Linked DNA regions of Homo sapiens: regions 1, 2, 4 and 5 are each linked to region 3. Evidence: promoter capture Hi-C in human tissues and cell types (Jung and others, 2019). All regions are on one chromosome and are shown on one strand. The core of a region is centred on a gene start or on the middle of the fragment in contact, and the rest is flanking DNA. Distances in the headings are between cores, read along the strand shown. Region 1 overlaps LOC105379350 (a long non-coding RNA gene). Region 2 has its middle 73 kb from the start of LINC02948. Region 3 holds the start of DCTN6 (dynactin subunit 6). Region 4 has its middle 64 kb from the start of DUSP4. Region 5 has its middle 41 kb from the start of LINC02948.

The links. Contacts are between HindIII fragments. The study calls those that stand out against the background at their distance.
Region 1: a fragment that was not itself captured here is called in contact with the fragment with the promoter of DCTN6 in region 3 in 2 of the 25 tissues and cell types used here (IMR-90 fibroblasts and spleen).
Region 2: a contact is called between a fragment that was not itself captured here and the fragment with the promoter of DCTN6 in region 3, in 1 of the 25 tissues and cell types used here (lymphoblastoid cells).
Region 4: a fragment that was not itself captured here is called in contact with the fragment with the promoter of DCTN6 in region 3 in 1 of the 25 tissues and cell types used here (lymphoblastoid cells).
Region 5: a contact is called between a fragment that was not itself captured here and the fragment with the promoter of DCTN6 in region 3, in 1 of the 25 tissues and cell types used here (heart right ventricle).

What each region holds. Positions count from the first base shown.
Region 1 is chr8:29,540,919-29,543,618 of GRCh38, reverse strand. The region is part of intron 1 of LOC105379350 (a long non-coding RNA gene); the gene reads right to left. Among named protein-coding and RNA genes, the nearest start is that of LINC02948, 20 kb to the left of the region's middle. The HindIII fragment of the contact is 5,876 bases long and covers 1-2,700 here.
Region 2 is chr8:29,633,920-29,636,631 of GRCh38, reverse strand. No RefSeq gene overlaps it. Among named protein-coding and RNA genes, the nearest start is that of LINC02948, 73 kb to the right of the region's middle. The HindIII fragment of the contact is 6,582 bases long and covers 1-2,712 here.
Region 3 is chr8:30,154,876-30,157,682 of GRCh38, reverse strand. DCTN6 (dynactin subunit 6) reads right to left here and starts at 1,314. Exons shown (of 7, transcript NM_006571.4): 1 at 1,277-1,314. The coding sequence starts at 1,299. It overlaps DCTN6-DT (DCTN6 divergent transcript), which reads left to right and starts at 1,023. Exons shown (of 1, transcript NR_186490.1): 1 at 1,023-1,854. It overlaps LOC124901927 (a long non-coding RNA gene), which reads left to right. Exons shown (of 2, transcript XR_007060880.1): 2 at 1-511. RefSeq lists a silencer at 944-1,053 and enhancers at 1,114-1,263, 1,207-2,189, 2,014-2,223. The HindIII fragment of the contact is 3,226 bases long and covers 1-2,736 here.
Region 4 is chr8:29,413,723-29,416,422 of GRCh38, reverse strand. No RefSeq gene overlaps it. Among named protein-coding and RNA genes, the nearest start is that of DUSP4, 64 kb to the right of the region's middle. The HindIII fragment of the contact is 6,412 bases long and covers 1-2,700 here.
Region 5 is chr8:29,519,521-29,522,220 of GRCh38, reverse strand. No RefSeq gene overlaps it. Among named protein-coding and RNA genes, the nearest start is that of LINC02948, 41 kb to the left of the region's middle. The HindIII fragment of the contact is 6,406 bases long and covers 1-2,700 here.

The DNA of each region.
Region 1 (2,700 bases), core at 190-2,689, 610 kb after region 3:
CCTCTGCATAGGTCCTGGCTTTATCCTGCCTCAGCTGCCTGGGCTCTGCTATGAATTAGTTTCCTAGGACTGTTGTAAGGAAGTATCACTAACCAGGTGGCTTAAAACAACAGATATCTATTCTCCCATCCTTCTGGAGGCTGGACGTGCAGAATCAAGGTGTCTGCAGGGCCACACTCCCTCCAAACCTCTAGGGGAAGACCTCTCCTTCCCTCTTCCAGCTTCTGGTGGACAGAGCATCCTTGGCTTGTGGCAACATCACTCCAATGTCTGCCCTGTCACAAGTGTTCTCTGTGTGTGGCTGTGTCTCTTCTCTTCCTGTAAGTGTAACTGCCCAGTGGGTTCCCCTTGCCTGCTGCCTAGAGAGAACCGATTTATCAAGACAGCGGAATTGCAATGGAGAAAGAGTAATTCACACAGAGCCACCTGTGCAAGAGACCAGAGTTTTATTATTACTCAAATCTGTCTCCCCGAGCATTCGGGGATCTGAGTTTTTAAAGATAATTTGGCAGGTAGGGTCTTGGGAAGTGGGGAGGCTGATTGGTCAAGTTGGAGATGGAATCATAGGGGGTCGAAGTTAGGTTTTCCTAATGTCTTGTGTTCCTGGGTGCAATGGCAGAGCTGGTTGGGCAGAACTGGTTGGGTCTGGGTGGTGTCAGCTGCTCCATCAAGTGCAAGGTCTGCAAAATATCTCAAGCTCTGATCTGAGATTTTACAATAGTGATGTTACCTATTGCGGGATCTGGCCAGCAGCCCGCAATGCAATAGGGCTCTCTCTTTGTTCCCAGGCAGGTCGGCAGGTTGAGAAATAATAGACACACACAAGATAGTGAAAGCTGGGTCCGGGGGGGTCACCGCCTTCTGGTCCTGTGGTGCCAACAATGCACTGGATATACCAGCACTTATTAAATTTAGTGAGGGCAGGGGTAGGTTAGTGATGGATTTAGGGTCATTTGATTATGAGGTGAGATGGTCACATGGGGATGAAGTAATTCTTTAACATAACATTTGTATGTAGAAGTACAGTACATTTGTATGTAGAAGTACAGTATACAGAGATAAGAATTTACAATATAGTGTGTGCATCAGTAATTTTTAACAGAGCCTTAAAACCGAAACACAATCTTTCCATAACCTATGATTAGCAAGATATTAATCAGCAGTAACAATTGCCACACAAGCTGGTTACGAACAATCCATGGAAACAGGACGTGAAGCTAGACAACCGGTTAGACCAGAAATTCTCAGAAGGGAGTATGCCTTAACCCTAAAGAGGCCTAGAAGAGCCATGGCAAGATGAGGGCGTTTATAGCCCTATCGTATCCATATGGACAGGTGCCACCCCTCCCCAACGCACCCATTTATAGGCTCTCCACAAGGGTTGCATTCCATTCCCAGAGCTATGAACATCTGCTTTTCTGGGATAGGAATCTTGGTGATGTGAAACCTCCCTGACTGCACATCCATTCATAGGCTCTCTGCGGGGGGAAGCACATCACGCGCTGTTGGCTCTTTCTGGCAGTCCAAACTGGCATTGTCTTTACACAATCCTGCATGTAATTTTGTATTTACAATAACCAGGAGCATTTCATCTTTTACTCCGTAGCAATAGTTTCAGGGGGACTCCCTACAGTTACCCCCAGGAGCAATTTGGGGAGGTTCAGACTCTTGAAGCCAGTGGCTAATTTCTAATCTTATAGCTAATTTGTTAGTCCTGCAAAAGCAGATTGGACCCCAGACAAGAAAGGGGTCTTTTCAGGAAAGGGCTATTATCGATTTTGTTTCAGAGTCAAACAATGAACTGAATTCCTTCCCAAAGTTTGACCTACGCCCAGGAAAGAACAAGGACAGCTTAAGGGTCAGAGAAGCAAGACAGAGTCGGTTAGGGCTGACTTCTTTCACTGTCATAATTTCCTCAGTTATAATTTTGCAAAGGCAGTTTCTTAAGGGCACTAGTTATACTGGATTAAGGGTCCACCCTATTCCAGTATCTCCTCTTAACTTCCATCTTAATTACTTCAGCAAAGACTGTACTTCCAAACAAGGCCACATTCATAGGTACCAGGCGTTACCACTTCAATATGTCTTTTTGGGGGACACAATTCAACTCACAACACCCTGGATACCTATATTCTACTGAGAGGGACCCCACCATACATCAGGTCTATTCTGTCATTTAAATAGAATCCCAAGGCAAAACTTCCCAAGGGTGATTCTGTTAAAAGCCTCCTTCCCTGCTGTGGGGCGGGATGGAGATAAACAAAGGGGTAAAGAGGATGGAAAACCCACCTCCTTCCATGTTGGGGAGGATGAGTACAGGCAGGAGAGAAGGACAGAGAAGCCAGCCCTGCCAAAGTGCATGTTCTGCGTTGATGCTACCTGCTCATCTGCTGGTTAAATCTCCTCTAAAGTGATGCTGACTTTAAGCCTGTAATGGAAAGGAGGGTAGAACCTGCTCTACCACTGCCTCTGAGAAGTCATTTAACCTTTCTGATCTCTGGTTTCCTTGCCTGTAAAATGAAGGGGTTTAACTATATTACCCGGGGTGTGGTGGGGGGGTTAGCTTGAAAATGTCCCCAGTTTTATGGTGACATTTGGGGGTTTCCTGCTCTCACGGACTCTGGGTTAATCAGAGGCAACTGACTGAGGATGTGGCAGACGTCCCAGGCAGGGGTCTCTGGATGGAGACGCTGCCTCACA
Region 2 (2,712 bases), core at 62-2,561, 520 kb after region 3:
AAGATCTGCTGGTTCACTAACTGCAAAAACAAACAGAAAAAAAGAGTAAGAGAAAACTGAAAAGTCTCCATTTGATCTTGTATATTGAATTTACTTCCCATCTTCTAACAATGGAATGATATTCAATCTCCACTAGAACACCACTTTGACATCTATGACTTGGAGGATGTGTAATGCTAGGAAAATAGCCTTATAGGGCCGTAGGGACTGCTGATGTATCTGTGATCCTATAAAGCTGCTTGTGGGCAATGCATAACAGAGTCAGGGTTCAGTTTTATATAAGTTGGTGAAAATAAATAGGATATGCTATTACTTGGGACTTTTTATCCTCAGATCTCCATGGATCTGGAATACTAAGACTATACAAAGTTTCCATTTGGTCTCATGGTTGTCTATTTACAACACAACTAAAATGCCTGCAGCTGGGAAGAAGCGCCTGCACACTGGCGCTCCTTGTGGTCAGCTGTTGTTGTAATGGGATGCCCCAGGGAGCTGGCTCCCCCACAGGCCAGAAGAAGGTTTGAAATAAAGGGAGTGGCGCTTCCACTCACCCTGCACCAGAGCCTGAGCTCTCACTTGCTTGTGCTCACCAGGAGTGACCGAAGATCCGACGCTCTGGCTTCCCAAGATGGAACCCAGTACTTGACTCCAAGCATCACAGGTACCTTTGTATGAAAATGGAAGTGGTGACTACCTGGTGACCTCCCTACCCTGCCAACTCCCCTCCCCAGAATGTGTCCGATCACACCTCCCAAGCTTGAATTATCTTCAAGGAGTCCTTCACTCTAACAAATCAGTCTTAAAATTGAAATATGCCGGTAGAGGCAGCTCCTCACCTTTCCATCGCATTAAGATGCAAATGACTGACATCAAATGCTTTCCTGACAGCTGGTTTGCTGGGGCACACTCTGGGCTATGGGAGGGAAGGAAAACACAGAAATGGAAGCAGAGGTCTTGGTTTTAAACTTGAATCTTGTTCTCTTTGTTCAGAAATTCTTTGGGCTGTGAGGGCAGTGCTGGGAGAACAAGGAGTCCACTGGTTACATGTTCTTCCCTCTGTCAAGTGCTTTGCTTAGGCTCTCAATTTTATAGCCTCCTTTTCAATCTCTGCTATCCTTTGCCTTCCCAGAGAGGTCACTTGCGAATGACCAGATCTAATGTGCACAACCTGACATGTTTTCCCCTTGGATGGCATCTTCCTCCCTCACTGTTTTCTTTCTTCCTCTGGGATATCACTTGTTTGGGTGATTTACAGTAGAAATTTTTCCTTTGTTTATACAGAGGATGCCACGACTTCTCGGGAAGTGAGTTAGGCCCCTGTCATCCCTGTTCTAACAGTGTAGTGACGGAAATAAATGAGGGAGGGTGACTCCCCCACCTGCTGTTCCAAACAGGGAAGAGGGCTCTGTGGTATTCTCTGAGCTGAGCCTGTAGTTGCACTTCTCAAGTGCAGGAAAGGTCACGGAAGTGGACACCAGCTCTCTGCCAGTTTGTTCTGAGAACTGAGAACGGTGGTTTCATAACCGATTGCATGAAGCTGAAGAAATCAGCCTCTGCTAGGGCTGGCACCAGAAGCATCGGTTCCCCAGATCTTCATGTATTTTTCCCTACTTTGTGCCATTCTCTCTCTCCTTCTGGACCATTTCTTCCTCCCCCTTCTCACATACGCATTGCCCTACCCTCTCTTGTCAAATCATCCTCACAGAATATGACCTTAAACGTGCTCTTGGTAAATTATAAATCACTGGAAAGAGCTTTGGCTCTCCCCTTTCCCGGGGTATTACACTTTAACAAGGATCAAAGGCTTAAATTAAAAGAATTAGTCTCTCATTGGGGGTTCTAAGCCACCAATATAGGAGAATAATTATTAAAGGAGAGGTACCATGAGGCATCCCAATATCCTTGAAATTATATACTTAGAAGGTGACTTGAAAAGGTAGAATTGAAGTCGTGGATGATTCTTCATCATGCCCTGTCTCTGCTGCGATGTTTCTAACACAGAACAACTTATATCCCTCAGTCTTCTAAAGAATTCATTTAATCCAATCTCCAAGATAGTGTCTGAGGCCCTACTGGGACATTCCTGATTTGTGTTCAATCAATAGTTCAAAAATCAGAGAATTCACTGTCTTCCTAGGCAAGGCAACTCATTGACAGACATTCCCAAATATTAGTAAGTTCGCCTGTTCCATTTACTCACTGGTCTTTAGCTCATTCTTAAAGCCTTGTGGGTTACATCTACTCTCTCTTGCATATGATAGTCTTCCAAAGAGCTGAAGACAATGGTCACATCCTCAATGCCTGGTTTATTCTTCTGCAAATTGAGAGTTACTCTGGCAGAGTGAATTGAGCAAAAAATCCACAGGAGGGATATACCCCTGTGGATGTGATGGCTTTAAAATGTGGCCATAAATTAGGTGTATTCTGAGATAGTGATATAGTTAGGCTCTGTGTACAAATCTCATGCTGAATTATGATCTTCAGTGTTGGAGCAGGGGCTTGGTGGGAGGTGATTGGATCATGGGGGCAGATTTCCCCCTTGCTGTTCTCCTGATAGTGAGTGAGTTCTCACGAGATCTAGTTGTTCAAAGTGTGTAGCACTTGCCCCTTCTCTCTCTCTCTCTCTCTCTCTCTCCTGATCTGCCATGGTAGGAAATGCTTGCTTCCCCTTTGCTTTCTGCCATGATTGTAAGTTTCCTGAGGCCTCCCAGC
Region 3 (2,807 bases), core at 65-2,564:
AAGACTACCGGAGAAGAAGCCAAACTTCCTGTCCCCACATGTTTACAAAGGAGCTTGTCCACTCCACGCCTGGCAAAAAATGTCACAGTTCTAAGCTTATACACTATTGGTGGGAATATAAATTAGTTCATCTATTGAAAATAGTATGGTGATTTCTCAAAGGACTAAACACAAGTACCATTGGACCCAGCAATCCATATAGAGCTACCAATCCAAACGGAACTACCATTCGACCCAGGATCTACTCAAAGGAAACCATTGTATTAAAAAGACAACTGCACTCCTATGACTATCACTGTACTATTCACAATAGCAAAGTATGGAATCAACCTAAGTGTTCATCAACGGATGACTGGATAAAGGAAATGTGGTGTATCTATACGATGGAATACTACAGAGCCATCAAAAAGAAAGGAAACATGTCTTTTGCAACAACATGGATGGAACTGGAGGCCATTACCTTACGCGATAACTCAGAAATAAAATCAAATGCACATGTTCTCACTTTTAAGTGGGAGCTAAAATGAGTACACATAAACATAAAGAGGGAAATAACAGACACTGGGGACTCTAAAAGCAGCGAGGGTAGGAGGGGTTTGAGGGCTGAAAAATTACCCATCTGATACAATGTTCACTATTTGGGTGGTAAGTACACTAGAAGCCAACTTCACCATTACGCAATTTATCTATGCAACAAATCTGCGCAAGTACTCCTTGCATCTATATAATGTGTGTGTGTGTGTGTCACAGTTCAAGTCCAGGCGCGGCCCCCCTTTTGACAGCGACCGTAAATCCCTTTACACACCCCACCCTCCAGAGACAGGAAGGGCCTGGGGTGCGGCCAGCACTGGCGTGGGGGTCTCGCAACATGCAGCAGAGAATCCAGCGCCAAGCCGTGGGGTACAGCGGCGCCAAGCACCGCCGATTATGCGGGAGAAGGGAGCCGGCCTTCCCCAGGAAAAAGCTGACGTCACCCTCCCCTCACAGCCCCCCCCGCCCTCCCGGCCGGGAGACCCCCTCTGCGCAGGCGCATGTGGGGAGGGACGGCCAGACAGGAACAAAAACCTTCCAGGCAGCGACTCCGCGTCCCTTCTCAACCCTCCCCGCCCCCACTCCGTCGCCCCCTCCCTCAGTGGACGCCAGGTCTGGGCTTCAGGTACCTTCGGCCCGAATGCCCAGGATGAGACACCTTCTGAGTCGCCACCATTGGCGACCAGGAACAGGTTCCACCCCTACGGAAAGCTGAGAAAAGGCTTTTCTCAAGCAGCAAACCCACCTCTTTTGAGTCTTCTCCGCCATGGTACGGCCCCAATTGGAACGTAGATCGACACCACCGCCTGGGTAGAGCGATAATTCCACATGCGATTGGAGAGCCTGGCAGGGTTGGGGGAGGGGCGGAGCCGGGGTGGGGCGGGGACCCGGAAGCTTGCGACTCTTGTTTGCGTCGCGTCTGGGCGCACAGGACTGTACTTTTGGTAGCGGTGCGGGGCCGCCCGCGGACTTTAGCCCTGCATAGAGATGGGTAGACCCTAATTTGGAACAGCCATTGACTGGGCACAGGCCAGCACTTTGGGAGGCCGAGAGGCCGAGGCAGGAGGATCGCTTGAGGCCAGGAGTGCCAGACTGCGAGACTAGCCTGGGTAACATAGTGAGACCCTCTCTTCAAAAAAAAAAAAAAAAAAAAAAAAAAAAAGCCTGTCACGGTGGCCTGCGCCTGTACCCCAGCTACTCGAGAGGATCGCCTGAGCCCAGTGAAGCTGCAGCGAGCTGTGAGGATGCCACCGCACTCCGGCCTGGGCTAAAAAGCTAGATCGTGTCTCTGATAAAAGAATAAAAGCTGTTTATTGCAATCCAGTCCGCGTCATTATGCCCTCATTTTACCCACTCGCGTAGGCGTAATTACACCCTAAAGGTATTTCTCTGACCTCGCCGATGTCCTTTTCAGCCTGTCTTTCTCTACTCATTAGGGCTCCTTCTGGCCCTTTTCTCGCTCTATATGAGTGCATCCTTCCTATAGGTTAAGTGCCCTCTACCTGTTTGCTCTCTAATGAATGTCTCTGGTTCTGCCCTCTGTGCCGATCTTCACACCTGACATTCGGTTGACTAATTGACATCTCCGCTCAGAGTCGTATCGAACCTAAAACTTACAGAACATGACTTTCGATTAACACTGCCGTCCTCCCTGCAACCTGCTGCTTTTTTGATCCACACCATTTGCCTAGCTGCTCAAGCCAGACACTCAAGAGTCACCCTGGCACTCCTCACCCCTACATCTGTAATAGATCTGCAAGTTCTGCTTGTCCTACCTCGGGTCTCATGCTTACACTTTTGTCTACCGGACCATCTCTCTAATCTCAGCCGATGTGTCTCTCCCAGTTGTTCACTCATTCTGTACTTGGCCTCTGAAATCACACCTCCTCATCTCCCACCCCCAACCCTGATCCAAGTAGTTCTCTTGTAGTCAAAATCATCCTTTAAAAGACAAATTGAGGCCAGGCGCGTGGCTCAAACCGGTAATCCCAGCACTTTGGGGGGCCGAGATGGGAGGATCGCTTGAGGCCAGGAGTTGGAGACCAGCCTGGTCAACACAGCATGATCCCGTCTCTATATATTTTTTCTATAATGTATTTTTTTAATGGAAAAAAATTAAAAATAAGAGCCAAATTCAGTTATTTCCCCTTCCTCTTAAAATCTAAAATCCAAACTGCTTTCCATAACCTATCTCTGAGCTACATCCAGCCCCTGCCTACTTCTCTCTTTCTCTTTCTATGTGTTCGATCACACCCTCATTCTCCAAAAAAGCAAAG
Region 4 (2,700 bases), core at 129-2,628, 740 kb after region 3:
AAGTGTATGTTTAACTTTAAAGAAATTACCAAGCTCCTTTTCAAAATGGCTGCACCATTTTGTATTCCCACCAGTAAAGCAAAGCACAAGAGTTCAGGTAAATTCACATCCTTGCCAACACTTGATAAAATCAATCTTTCTAATGTTAGCCTAGAATGTTACACTAGAATGTGGGTGTGTAGTCATATCTCACTGTGGTTTCAATTTACATTTTCCTAATGTCTAATGGTATTGAGTATCTTTTCACATGCTATTTTCCATGGTGAAGTGTTTCTTAAACCTTATCTTCATTTGTTAATGGGGTTGTGTAATTTCTTATAATTGAATTGTAAAAGTCTCTATGTATTCTGGATACAAGTCCTTTATCATATATATATTCTGCAAATAATTTCATCCAGTTCTTGGCTTTTTAAATTCTTTTACAAGTGTCTTTTGAAAAACAGTTTATAATATTGATGAAGTTAAATTTATCATTTTTTTCATTCATGCTTTGTACTATTTTTGTGTCCTACCCAAGACATTTTTTACTAATTCACTGTCACGAAAATTTTCTGTTTTCTTCTAGTAGTTTTATAACTTTAGCTTTTATATTTAGGCCTATGATTCATTTTAAGTTAAATTTTGTAATACAGTGTGAGGTAAGGGTCAGGGCTGTTTGTTTTTTGTGCTTTTGTTTTTGTTTTTTTGGCATATGAAAATCCAGTTGTTCCAGCCCTATTCGTTCAAAAGATTATCACTTCTTCATTGAATTGCCTTGGCAACTCTGTTACTGGAAAGGGATCCCAATCTAGATCCCAAGAGAGAGTTTTTGGATCTCACACAAGAAGGAATTCAGAGTGAGTCCATAGAGTAAAATGAAGGTAAGTTTATTAGGAAAGTAAAGGAATAAACAATGGTCACTCCATAGGCAGAGCAGCCCCAAGGGCTGCTGGTTGCCCATTTTTATGATTATTTCTTGATTATATCCTAAATATAGGATGGATTATTCATTTCTCCCCTTTTTAGACCATATTGAGCATTTGTAAACTGTCATGGCACTGGTGGGAGTGTAGCAGTGAGGATGACCAGAGGTCACTCTTGTCACCATCGTAGTTTGGATGGGTTTTAGCTGGCTTCTTTACTGCAGCCTGTTTTATCAGCAGGGCCTTTATGACCTGTATCTTGTGCTGACCTCCTATCTCATCCTGTGACCTAGAATGCCTTAACCATCTGGGAAAGCAGCCCAGTAGGTCTCAGCCTTATTTTACCCAGCCCATATTCAAGATGGAGTTGCTCTGGTTCAAACACCTCTGACAACTCTGCTGGAAATCTGTTGACTATGTATGTGTGGATCTACTTCCAGACTCTCTCTTCTGTCACATTTATCTTTATGTCCGTCTGAATACTAATGCCTCACTAAGTTACTTATTATTACAACTTTATATTGTCTTAAAATTAGGTAATGTAAGTCCTCCAACTTTGATGTACCCTTTCAAAAAATTAGTTTAGTCTTTATTAGATTTTTACTTATAAACGATTTTATTATAAAAATTAAAATTAAAAATTAAACACCACAAGGAAAGGAAAAAGACAAGCCAAGAACTTAGAGAAGACATTGGTAGCCCATATAAAAAACAACAGATCTTTTATCTATAATATATACATTGTTCATACATTCAATAAGAAAAATACACACAAACCCAAATAAAATCCGATAAAGAACCTGTAAACACTTAGCAGAAAACAAAGCACTAATAGCAAATAAACATTTGGGTGAAAAAATTCTAAACTACCTTGATGGCTGGGCGTGGTGGCTCACGCCTGTAATCCCAGCACTTTGGGAGGCCAAGGTGGGTGGATCATGAGGTCAGGCGTTCAAGACCAGCCTGGCCAACATAGTGAAATCCCATCTCTACTAAAAATACAAAAAATTAGCCAGGCATGGTCGTGGGCGCCTGTGATCCCAGCTACTTGGGAGGCTGAGGCAGGAGAATTGCTTGAACCTGGAAGGCGGAGGTTGCAGTGAGCCAAGATTGTGCCACTGCACCCCAGCCCTGGCGACAGTGCAAGACTCCGTCTCAAAAAATAAATAAATAAATAAATAAACTACCTTGATAATTAGTAAAAAGCAAATTAAAATGACAATAGGCTATCAGTTTACAATGTAGCAAATTTTACAACTTGGGAAAAATTAAGAAATTGACAATATTAACTATTTGCAGAAATGGGAAGCAACAGAAACTCTTAACACTGCTGGAAAGATTGTAAATTGGTAAAACTCCTTAAAAAAACACTTGACATTACAGTGGTCCCCCCTTATCTGAGGGAGATATGTTCCAAGACCCCCAGTGGATGTCATAAACTATAGATAGTATGGAACCCTATATATACTATGTTTTTTTCTATCCATAACATACCTATGATAAATTCAGGTTATAAATTAGGCACAGTAAAAGATTAACAATAACTAATAATAAAATAGAACAATTAGGCACAGTAAGAGATTAACAATAACTAGTAATAAAATAGAACAATTTTAACAATATATTATAATAAAAGTTGTGTGAATGTGCTTTCCCTCTCTCTCTTTCTCAAAATATCTTCTTGTACATAATATTTTTGGATCACAGTTAACCACAGGCAACTGAAACTGCAGAAAGTGAAACCTCAGAAAAAGAGGGACTTCTGTATCTAATGTAGTTAAACCATAAAATTTTAAAT
Region 5 (2,700 bases), core at 125-2,624, 640 kb after region 3:
TAAAACATATCATATGTCTTCAAGCAGCTTTTGGTCTCTGCAGAGAGAAGAAAAACTGGGAAAAAGAGAGAGAAGAGAGAGAGGGAAATTGAAAGAGAGAGAGAGGAGAGGCCACCTGGATTTACCATTTATTACATTGTAATGTAATTGCTGGTGTAATTTTCTCTCCTTTCGCTGTACACTCCAGGATCGATAATTTAGGCTTCTATTTTATATGTAAACTATTTCAAATTCGATTTTTACAGAAATCTGATATTTATCAGCAACTCACTGAAAGCCAAGCCATCCTGAAGTGGCTCATGGGGCTGTTTCTCCTAGGAGAGTATCTCTGCAACTTCTTTGTGGACCATCCAAAGGTAATTCAGCAGTGGCTGAAATTCTATTCGATAAGCTGAGATCCCTCTTTTCACACTTCTGTATGGTCCTATGAGTGCCGTTAACCACAGAGCTGTCTCTCTCACTGATGGAATTAATAACTTACTGGCCAGGGACAGTGGCTCACGCCTGTAATCCCAGCACTTTGGGAGGCAGGCAGATCACTTGAGGTCAGGAATTCGAGACCAGCCTGGCCAAAATGATGAAACCTCGTCTCTACTAAAAAAAAAAAAAAAAATTAGCCGGGAGTGGTGGCATGTGCCTGTAATCCCAGCTACTCAGCAGGCTGAGGCAGGAGAATCACTTGAACCTGGTAGGTGGAGGTTGCAGTGAGACGAGATCACGCCACTGCACTCCAGCCTGGATGAGAGAGAGAGACTGTCTCCAAAAAAAAAAGGGGGGAGGAATTAATAACTTACCACAAACAACTCAAACATTCAATTCATTACTCTTCAATAACCCTAAGGCAGGAATTCAACAATGCAAATAAACCTCAGGAGAGTTCCAGATACAAGGTACCAGAGACAGGCAGTTCTAGGAAAGTGAGTCCCAGGAGGAAGAATATGTCAGAACAGTAGGCTTTTAGCCAAAAGGATTTTCAAAACTAATTTCTCTTCCATCTTTTAGAGAGAAGACTAGATATTTTAAATACTAGTTTTTGAAAGCCAAGCATATTCCTGGGACATTTCACAGTTACTTATTCACTAAACCACTGCTAAACTTGGGGGTCTTTTAGGTTTCCAACCTCAGCTCCCACATGAAGCTTTTCAAAATGAAACCTTGGTATGTGTTTACTGAACAGCTTCTCTCTACATGGTCAAGCAGACTTAATCTCAGAAAAGGAGAGACATTTCTGGTAAGTAAATGACCCAAACAGGAAGTGAGCCCATGACAAGTGCGTAGAATGTGCTGGAAGGTGTGCAAAGATGAGGAAGGTCCTTGGGGACATAGCTCATGCTTTTCCCAGCAGAGCTCCTCAGCATCGTGGTCTTTTCCCCCTCACCCCCCTGCAAGGAGAGTCCTGGCAGGAAGGTGCCAGCCAGGACCTCTGTGGCCAGTAGGAGCTCATTTCCTGGCCCATGGCTTCTACCTGATGCTGTGATATTGACCAAGCTAACATTATAGGAGATGCAAATTATATGTTTCCTATGACTGCTGTCACAAATCACCACAAATCCGGTGGTTTGTTTGTTTGTTTGTTTGTTTGTTTGTTTGTTTGAGACGGAGTCTCACTCTGTCGCCCAGGCTGGACTGCAGTGACACCGTCTTGGCTCACTGCAACCCCTGCCTGCCAGGTTCAAGCGATCCGCCTGCCTCAGCTTGGGATTATAGGCGCGTGCCCTACGCCCAGCTTATTTTTTGTATTTTTTTTTAGTAGAGACAGGGTTTCACCATGTTGGCTAGGGTGGTCTCAAACTCCTGACCTCAAGAGATCCGCCCACCCAGGTCTCCCAAAGTGCTGGGAGTACAGGCATGAGCCACCGTGGCTGGCCCAAACTTAGTGGCTTAAACAATACAACTTATTATCTTTCAATTCTGGAAATTGGAAGTCAGAAATGGGTCTCACTGGGCTAAAATCGAGGCATCAGCAGGACTGTGTTCCTTCCGGAGGCTCTAGGGAAGAATCGGTCTCCGTGTCTACAAGAACACCCTCAAACTGCACCTTCCTGTATCTTCAAAGCCAGCGAGGCCGGTTGGGTCCTTCTGACATTGAGTACCTCTGACCTACGCTTCTGCCTCCATCTTCTAAGGTCCTTTGTGTTAACATAAGATAAACCAGGATAATTCTTGTTAAAGTCAGCTGATGAGCAACTTTAATTCCATCTGCAACTTTAATTCTCCTTTTGCCGTGCATTATAACACTCACAGATTCTGAGGATTAGGATGTAGACATCTTTGGCGGCCAGTGGGGAGGGAGGTGAGGGCACACTTTATTCTTCCTACCACACAATCAAACCAACATAAATAGGATGAAAGATGGGGAAGCATGCCCTCTAGATTAACACAACGAAAATGTGAAAACACCAGACAATGCAAGTTAGGTGCAAGCTTTAAAGTGAAAAAACACAAGACAGTCATGGGCAGGGGCCAGAACACCCCCATGTGTCAGGGGACATGGTAATGAAATCAAAGAAGGATGAAGCCCTCCCAGAGATTTTTGATGTGTGAGAACCAATAGGAACCTCGAGAAGTCATAGCGCTACCTTTATTGAGTGCTCCTACACTTTTGTGGTCATTTTGGTGCAATATTTGAAGATATTAAAAGATGCCAACCAACACAAAGCAAGCTGTCAACCATTGCAGCACTTCACATTGCCTTTAAAA